Linked DNA regions of Homo sapiens: all the other regions are linked to region 1. Evidence: promoter capture Hi-C in human tissues and cell types (Jung and others, 2019). All regions are on one chromosome and are shown on one strand. The core of a region is centred on a gene start or on the middle of the fragment in contact, and the rest is flanking DNA. Distances in the headings are between cores, read along the strand shown. Region 1 holds the start of NSUN2 (NOP2/Sun RNA methyltransferase 2). Region 2 has its middle 200 kb from the start of ICE1. Region 3 overlaps ADCY2 (adenylate cyclase 2).

Region 1 (2,994 bases), core at 194-2,693:
GTAGAAACCAGTGGCCCTCAAGACCGACCATCAGCATTAGACTCTAGGCCAACCCCCTCCCCCCCGCCCCCACAGTCGTGATCTAAGGGAACAAAATCTAGTCTTCATTTTTATTTTACATTTTTACTTTTTAACTCTTTATTTTTATATATTTAATTTTGAGACAGAGTCTCGCTCTGTCACCCAGGCTGGAGGGCAGTGGCGAGATCTCGGCTCACTGTAACCTCCGCCTCTCGGGTTCAAGCGATTCTTCCATCTCAGACTCCCGAGTAACTGGGATCACAGACAGGCGCCACCGCGCCCGGCTAAGGAAACCAAACCTAGGACCACTGAGTGGCTCTTTCCAGATCAGTTTCATCATGTTTTTTTCCATCACTCCCTTCCAGTCCTTTGTTTCCCGCCCTTTCCAGACGAATCCCTTCTGGTTTCCAAACTCCCGGGGCCGGGGGACTCGGGGAAGGGCACCCGTGCAGATGGGGGACGCCCCGGGGGATCTGGCAGGGAGAGGGCATCTGGGTGGGGGAGGCTTCGGGGAGAGGGCACCGGGCAGTGAGGGGAGGGTCGGAGAGGACGCCGGGCCGGGAGTAGGGTAGGGGGCCGGGGGCCGGGGACGTTACCGATGCCCGTAGTGGACGAGGAACATGGCCAGGAGGATGCAGTTGGGCGCGCTGCGGAGACGCGGGGCGGACTCGCTGGCGTACTGGTAGAGCGGCAGGGCCAGCGAGGGCAGCTCCTGCACCACCCAGGCGGCCCGCGCCGGCACTCGGAGCCTGTGGCTGGGCAGCGCGTGGCGGCCGTACACTGAGTTCGTCTGACGATTGCGCGCGAAGACCGCGCAGCCCACGGCGCACTGCAGGTAGGCGAGCGCGGCCAGCAGGCGCTCCTCCGCCACCCCCGTCGCCGTTGCCATCGCCAGGGCTGGGCAGCGTGCTCCATGCCCCAGAGGCCGCGGCGGGCAACATATAGGGCGGCGGCGCGGGGGCAGGAGGGGCGGCTACCGGAGGGGCGGCTACCGGAGTCCCGCACTGCCGGGACTCTGCAGAAAGGGTTCTCAAGTCAGGCTTCTCCGGGGTAGCCGGGGCTGTGGGTGCGGCCCCGGGGGCGGGGCGAGCACTTGCGCGGGGAGGGACCTGCAAGCGCCCCACCCACGCCGGGGCCGCAGTAACCCCGCGCCGCTCTGCGCACGCGCGGCTTCAGGCTGTCCGCGGAGCTCCTTGAGCCCGCGTGGGAAACCTGGGCGCTTCGCGCGGAGACGCCTTTGTGGCTGCTTCCTGGAGCATTTTTTTCCCCTTAGAGCTGTTCGCTGTTTTCCCTGTCACGCCGCTTTTCTGAAAGACGGGTTGTGCGCTTTGGGCTTATTCCTGGACGGTCCCCAAAGGTCCCCGAAAGGACCAGGCCCGGACACGTGGGGCCTTGGTTTCCGGCCGGAAGTCCCGGGAGGTGTAGGGCTAGAGTTCTGGCCGTGGCGGGCCGGTTTCTGCGTGCTGCGTGCGCGGCCGCGTGGGCTATGGGGCGGCGGTCGCGGGGTCGGCGGCTCCAGCAACAGCAGCGGCCGGAGGACGCGGAGGATGGCGCCGAGGGTGGTGGAAAGCGCGGCGAGGCGGTAGGAGCCGGGACCCGGCGGGCGGGCCAGGGGCTCCTCCTGGGCTTCCCGGACCCCGAGGCCTGCGAGGCGGCGGCGAGGGGGCGGCTCCTTGGGCCTCGGGGTAGACGTCTCTTTCCTTCCTCAGGGCTGGGAAGGAGGCTACCCCGAGATCGTCAAGGAGAACAAGCTGTTCGAGCACTACTACCAGGAGCTCAAGATCGTGCCCGAGGGCGAGTGGGGCCAGTTCATGGACGCTCTCAGGGAGCCGCTCCCGGCCACTTTAAGAATTACTGGTTACAAAAGGTAGGGAGGCAGTGCCTGATTTTTTGGGAGTTGGGGCCAGGATGCTGGAGGTTAAAGGCGACGGTGTTTTCTTCGACAAGTGTTACAGTGCCAGAGAACCGTGGCGTTTCAGCGGTTTGGATTCAGGAAGCATTGAGGTGGGGAGCACAGGGTCCAATGAAATGGTCACGGAGGTATTGCAGGCGCAAGGTTAGAAGACGAAATGAAAATGAGATCTGAGGAAGATTCGGCTCCTGGGGAATCTTCCAGGAGGGAAGCTGAGGGTCTTACCTTTTGGAACGTAAGAGAATTTATAGAGAATGCATAAAACCCCTTGGTTCTCCCCTCCTCCGCGCCCCCCCTCCATCTTTGTAGTTACATCTTTCTAAATGAGTCGCAAGTAAAACTTAACGGTAGGATATGCTTAGGAGAGAAGGAATGCAGTGTTGCTCTTAGGGCTCAAACAGTGTGGATTGCTTAAATTTTGAAGGCATACAGTGTAAAAGTAGTGACTAAAGAATGTTTACTCTCCATGCAAAAGTTGGTTTTAGTTTTAAAACACTTGCAGTCTTAAATTTAAGAAGATACAATGTATTAACTTAGTTTTTTAGATCAGTTTGAAACTTCCTTATTTTTCAATAGCCACGCAAAAGAGATTCTCCATTGCTTAAAGAACAAATATTTTAAGGAATTGGAGGACCTGGAGGTGGACGGTCAGAAAGTTGAAGTTCCACAGCCACTGAGTTGGTAGGTACCACAGTGCTTCATGCCGAATATTTATTTGGGATATTAATCTCTATCACTTGAATTATATTTCTTGGTACTGCATTTGCTGTTAAAGAGCTTGGGTATACTTTGCAAACATCCTAATGTTCTAGTACCTGGTGCTTTTATCAACATTATATTGCTACGCAAGTTTTCATGCGATTTGCGATTTGCAGCTTTATGAGTCACTGATTTCAGCCAGCTCTTCCTAGTACATCCAGCCTCTTCCTTTATGTCACCACTTCCGCCAGCTCCCTTTTACAGCCCTTGTTTTCTCACATCAAAACTGTTGCAGAGTGGCTGCTTTGCCTTCAGAAAAAGGACAGACTTAGCTTGACAACAGTCTCCTGGTAGGTAGTCTC
Region 2 (2,903 bases), core at 361-2,860, 1.0 Mb after region 1:
GCTGCAGAAGGTGAAGTTGCTTTCTATTCTGAGTAGCTTGACTTTGAATGAAATGACTATTTCTTTTCTTCTTTTTCTTTCTTTTTTTTTTTTTTTTTTTTTTTTGAGATGGAGTTTCACTCTTGTTGCCCAGGCTGGAGTGCAATGGCGTGATCTTGGCTCACCGCAACCTCTGCCTCCCAGGTTCAAGCAATTCTTCCACCCTAGCCTCCCCAGTAGCTGGGATTACAGGCATGTGCCACCATGCCCGGCTAATTTTTTGTATTTTTAGTAGAGATGGTGTTTCTTCATGTTGGTCAGGCTGGTCTCGAACTCCTGACCTCAGGTGATCTGTCTGCCACGGCCTCCTAAAGTGCTGGGATTACAGGCATGAGCCACTGCATCCGGCCGAAATAACTATTTTCTAAATTATAGTGGCCTATTTTAAATTTCAAGGTTTCTTGTGCATGTACAAAAAGTGAAGAAATAGCTATTAATAAATGGCTTCATAACAGAAAATCTTTGCAAACAGATGATGCAGATCAATACCATTGGTTGCTTCAAATAGAAAACCAGATCATTATAATTGTTGAATACTTTATGTAATTAATGGAGCCAAAGAAAAGCATTTGGAAGCTTATTTTAATGAAGGTGGAGAAACAGTTTTGTTAATTTCCCTATCGTTAATTGTATATTCAGCTAAAAATTCCACATGGAATATAGAATTATTTGTTTTGTGTAATGATGTGAATACAAATTTCGGTGGAACAAAATATCATGGCAAAAGCAATATTCTTGCTGAATTAAAAATCTATGAATCGGAATCTTACTTGGAATTGGCTATGGTACTTCCATAATTCTTGGTTATATTCAAACCAGCTGAGGTATTCCACTAGTCAAAATAGAAACTTTATTATTTTATGTACAAATTTTTAACATATGCCCAGGCATGGAATAACTAAACCACAGTTTTTGGCTGAAAATGATGTTAAATGCAAAAAGGTATTGATACAACAAACAGTGCTGGGACAATTAGATATTCATGGAGATAAAAACAAACCTTAACCTCTACATTATACTCTATAAAAAAGTTAAGACAGCTTGTAGACTTGAATGGAAGCTGAAACCATAAAGCTTCTAGAACAAAATATGCACTTTCATCTTCAACATAACTCTTAGGACACTAAATAAAGCACTAACCAAAAAAAAAAAAAGCAAAATGATAAATTGAACTTTAGCAAAATTATAAACTCACGCTCTTCAGAAGACATAGCTAAGAAAACAAGAAGGCAAGAGAAGGCAGGGGAAAATATTCACAATATGTATATCTGACAAAGAATATGTATCCAGGGATGAAAATCCAAAAAAAACAAATAGTAAAAACAATCTAATCTTAAAAAGAGGCAAAAGATTTGAAGGAAAACTCACAACAGAAAATATGTGCTGGCCAATAAACCATAGAAAGGAGCTCAGCAATCATGGGTTAGCAGGAAGATGTGTTAGAATCACAATGAAATATCACTTTACACCCACTGCAATGGCTGCCATTAACATGACTGGCAACATCAAGTGTCATCAAGAATTTGGAGCAACTGGATCTCTCATACATTGCTGGTGGGAATGCAAAATATAGGACAATCACTTTGAAAAAGTGATTGGCTGTTTCTCAAAAGGTTAAGTATACTTTCACCATCAACTTAGCAACCTCATTCTGAGGCACATATCTGAAAAAAATCAAAGGATACAACCAGAAATGACTTGTAAAATAATATTTGTATCAGTTTTATTCATTATAGCCAAAAAACTGGAACCCCTCCAATGTCCACCAACAGGAGACTGGATGGAACATTATGCTAAGCAAACAAAGCCAGACATCAAAGAATACATACTTATGATTTATTATTTCATTTGTAAGAAGTTCAATAACAGGCAAAACTAATTTATGGTGATAGAAATCAGAACAGCAGCTGTCTCTGGAGGTGGAGGCAGGACTAGCTAGAGACTAACACAGGGAACTTTCTGAGAAGAGGGAAATACTCTGTCTGATTGGGCTGTGGGTTACACAGGTGTCTCTATCTTTGCCAGGTCTCATCAAATGTATGCTTATGACTTGTATAATTTGATTTAAGTCATACCTCAACAAGAAAGCAAAAGTAGATCAATTTAATAAATGAGGTGTACTGGTTTTCTGCTTTTCTATTTTTGGTGTAATAAATTTTCACAAATTTAATGGCTTGAAACAAAACAAATTTATTCTTTTACAGTTCCAGAGGTCAAAAGTCCAAAATGGGCATTCCTGGCTAAAAATCAAGGTGATGTCAGGGCTGCCTTCCTTTCTGGAGGCTTTGGAAGAGAATGCATTTTCTTATTTTTCTAGCTTTTAGACACTGCCTGTACTTCCTGGCTCCCGGCATTCTTCTTATCTTCAAAGCCAGTCGCAGCCAGTCGAGTCTTTTTCATAGGGTATTACTGCAACTCTGACTCTCCCTCCGTCTTCCGTCTTTAAAGACCTTTGTGATTACACTGGTCCCCGCAGATAATCCTGGATAATCTCCCTCTTACAGTCAGCTGATTAGCAATTTCATCTGCTACCTTAATTCCTCTTTCCACTTAACATAACATATTCACAGGTTCCAGAGATTAGGACATGGACATCCTTGGGGACATTATTCTGCCCACCATGTGGGGTTTGAGGTCAAATAGCGGAAAGCCATCATGGGAGTTTTCACCACAAGGGGCATATCCTGGGAAGGAACTCAAAAATACACTAAATCTTTAAGTTGTGTTTATATGGATATGTTACCTTTAAAAATTAATTAAGGTTAAGCTGCATAGATTAAATGTATGCACTTTAAGTAAAAATATGTCAATAATAATTTTTCAAAACAAAGGTAAGTGCCTGTGATCACTATATTTGTAAATCA
Region 3 (3,011 bases), core at 496-2,995, 1.1 Mb before region 1:
TTTGTCTGATATTAATATATGTATAGTAGCCTCCTTGTGCTTATTGTTTACATCAGATACGTTTTCCATCCTTTCACTTTCAAGCTACCTAACTTGTATTTAAAGTGCATCTCTTGTAGAGAGTATATGGCTTGGTCATACTTTCCTTTGGAGTATTTAGTCCTTTCCCATTTATAATGTTTGAATTTAATCTTACCCTCTGGCTATCTATTGTTTATTTGCCCCATTGCTTTTATTTGTATAGTGTGGTCTGTCACATTTGTTGCTACTACTTCAAACGTACCATTTTACTATCTGTTTTATATTTGTCTCATTTATTTTTGTTTTTCTGTTCTTCCATTATTATTTTATTAATTAAATATTTAAAAGTATTTTTCATTTCCTCTTGGCTTTTTAGCTATCCTTATTTTATTTTTAGTGATTGCTCAAGGCTTAATACACGCTGTCCTAACTTATCATTAGTTATTTGGCATTAATATTGTGCCACTTCAAAAAATACATGACACAACAATTTAATCCCATTCTCATAAGAATTCTCAGTATATGTCACATGTCATTGTTTTTGCATCAGATCACCTGTTGTCTTTTAGAGACATGAAAAATAAATACATTGTCTTTTATACTCTCTCATAAAGTAAGCATGTCCAATACTTTCCATTCCTTCCTTAGATTCCTTTTTCCTTCTGACATAATTTCACTTTAGCTTGAGGAACTTCCATTAGCATATCTTGTAGGTTTGCTGGTGATGAATTCCCTCTTTTTTTACTTGCAGAATGTATTTCATCTCGACTTTGAAAAGGAATATTTGAGTTGAATGTTTAATTCAGGGTTCATCATGTTCCTATCAGTGGTTTAAAGATGTTCAAGTGTCTTTTGCTTTCCATCATTTCTGATAAGAAGGCAGCCATTTATTCTGTCATTGATCCCTTGTATGTAATGTCTTTTTTTGTGGGTGCATTTAATGTTTTTCTTTTTTCTGGTTTCCAGAAGTGTGACTATAATATGCCACATGTGGTTTCCTTCATATTTATCCTGCTTGATGTTCATAGAGATTCTTGCCTTTGGAGAGTGATGGATTTTAACAAATTTAGGAAAATTTGTCACTAAGTGTGTTGGTAATTTCTTGTTTGCTTTCAAGTATATTTCTATCCATCTCTTAGAGACTTCATTTCACAGACTCTTTGTCAAATGTCTCTAGCTAGTTTGGCCGATGAGAACTGGTGGGAGACTGGAAGGCAATGGAAAGAAAGAGATTGGGTATTTCTTTTACTCTCTACTTAGCAGCCATTTTCTGAATGGCCTGCAACTCCTGCCTTTTCTAAAATTCCAGATCCTTGTCAGACAACACCTTACCTTCGTCTAGCTCTAGCTTTGCATGGTTCTAGCATCTGCAAGAAAGCCCAGGAGCCTGGGTTTCTGCTAACAACACCTCTATCCTGTTTCCTTACAAGTCTAGAGGTGGTAGGAGGTTTCTTCTGTTGCTAATATCATGGCTAGTATACTATCCCCTATTTGGTTTATCAGCTTTTCTCTCATTCTGTAAATACTTCTTTATATTAAATTCCCTTTCGGAAATACCTAAGACAATTTGTTTTCTTTATTGGAGCCTAATCCATTAACTAGATAAAGCTTTCTCTGGGCACTATAATATCATTAATAGTTAGGTAGAAACCTAGGGAAGAACTGTAACAGTGACTTCCCTAAATTCCTTCCTTTTTCTTTTGAAAATAGCAAAAAAAAAGTTTTTACTTGAAGTATTTATCATTAGAAGTATTGAGCAAATATGTATATATTCCTTGGGTTATGCCATACTCTAATTTTTTTTATAAATGGAACAAGGGATTATGGAATTATATTGGCCTTCAATTAAACACATATCAACTGATTTAGAGACAATTATGTGTTAATCTACTAACAAATCATAAGGTTTATTTTGTGAATCAGAGTTTAAATAATGGATTCTTGTACTACAATGAATTATATAGGCCTTTGTTTCCTAAAATGCATTTCAATGTTTCTTTTTTTTTGAATAATTATTCCACCATGAAGAGAGTTGACAGAGACATTCTGAAGTCAGGTCAAATAGACCTAAAAAACAATAAGGGTATTAAAATGTGACTCTTCCTATTTTATAATAATATGCTGGACACAGTGAAGAGCATCCCAGAAGAGTTGTTAACATTTTTTTGTGAATGTATCTGATGACCACTGCTTACTCCTTCCTCAAATGTCAAAATCTATTAAGAGCTGATAAAGGAATAGAGTGTTACTAATAGAGCTGACTATCTGTTTTTGATTTGCTGTAACATATGACATGCCCATTTAAGCAGGGATGATCATTCTTAAGAGTATGTTGTGACACACAAAACTGACTAAAGAAGAAATGAAAAATATAAATAGGCTTACCTATAAAAAGTAAAGAGATTAACTTAGTAATTAAAAAAATCTACTTACAAAGAAAAATTCATGTGCAGATGGCTTCACTGATAAATTTTCCCAAACTTTCATTTCATTTTTAATTTTTTTTTGAGACAGAGTCTTGCTCTGTCACCCAAGCAAGAGTGCAGTGGTGCAATCACAGCTAACTGCAGCCTCTACTTCCCGGGCTACAGCCATCCTCCTGCCTCAGCCTACCAAGTAGCTGGGACCAATAGGCCTGTGCTGCCATGTATGGCCAATTTTTGTATTTTTGGTAGAGAGGGGGTTTTGCCCCTTTGCCCAGGGGTTTTGCCATGTTGTCCAGGCTGATCTCAAACTCTTGAGCTCAAGCAATCCACCTGCCTCTGCCTCTCAAAGTGCTGGGATTACAGGTGTGAGCTAGCATGCCTGGCCCAAAACTTTGAAAGAAGAATTAATATCCATTTTTTACAAACTATTCCATAAAATGGAAGGGAAGGGAACAGTTCTTAACTCGTTCTGAAGCCAGTATCACCCTGACACCAATACCAAAGACATCACAAAAAAAAGTAGAAATCAGTATCTCTTATGAATGTGGATACAAAAATCCTTAA

What was found. The method cuts DNA at HindIII sites, captures the fragments that hold promoters and counts their contacts. A contact is called where the count stands out against the background at its distance.
Region 2: a contact is called between a fragment that was not itself captured here and the fragment with the promoter of NSUN2 in region 1, in 1 of the 25 tissues and cell types used here (dorsolateral prefrontal cortex).
Region 3: a fragment that was not itself captured here is called in contact with the fragment with the promoter of NSUN2 in region 1 in 1 of the 25 tissues and cell types used here (dorsolateral prefrontal cortex).

Annotation. Positions count from the first base shown.
Region 1 is chr5:6,631,493-6,634,486 of GRCh38, reverse strand. NSUN2 (NOP2/Sun RNA methyltransferase 2) reads left to right here and starts at 1,443. Exons shown (of 19, transcript NM_017755.6): 1 at 1,443-1,603; 2 at 1,731-1,888; 3 at 2,510-2,614. The coding sequence starts at 1,508. SRD5A1 (steroid 5 alpha-reductase 1) reads right to left here and starts at 1,047. Exons shown (of 5, transcript NM_001047.4): 1 at 618-1,047. The coding sequence starts at 910. RefSeq lists enhancers at 324-835, 836-1,347 and a silencer at 811-1,200. The HindIII fragment of the contact is 6,073 bases long and covers 1-2,994 here.
Region 2 is chr5:5,616,252-5,619,154 of GRCh38, reverse strand. No RefSeq gene overlaps it. Among named protein-coding and RNA genes, the nearest start is that of ICE1, 200 kb to the right of the region's middle. The HindIII fragment of the contact is 3,939 bases long and covers 1-2,903 here.
Region 3 is chr5:7,735,737-7,738,747 of GRCh38, reverse strand. All of the region lies in intron 14 of ADCY2 (adenylate cyclase 2), which reads right to left. Among named protein-coding and RNA genes, the nearest start is that of CFAP90, 110 kb to the left of the region's middle. The HindIII fragment of the contact is 7,857 bases long and covers 1-3,011 here.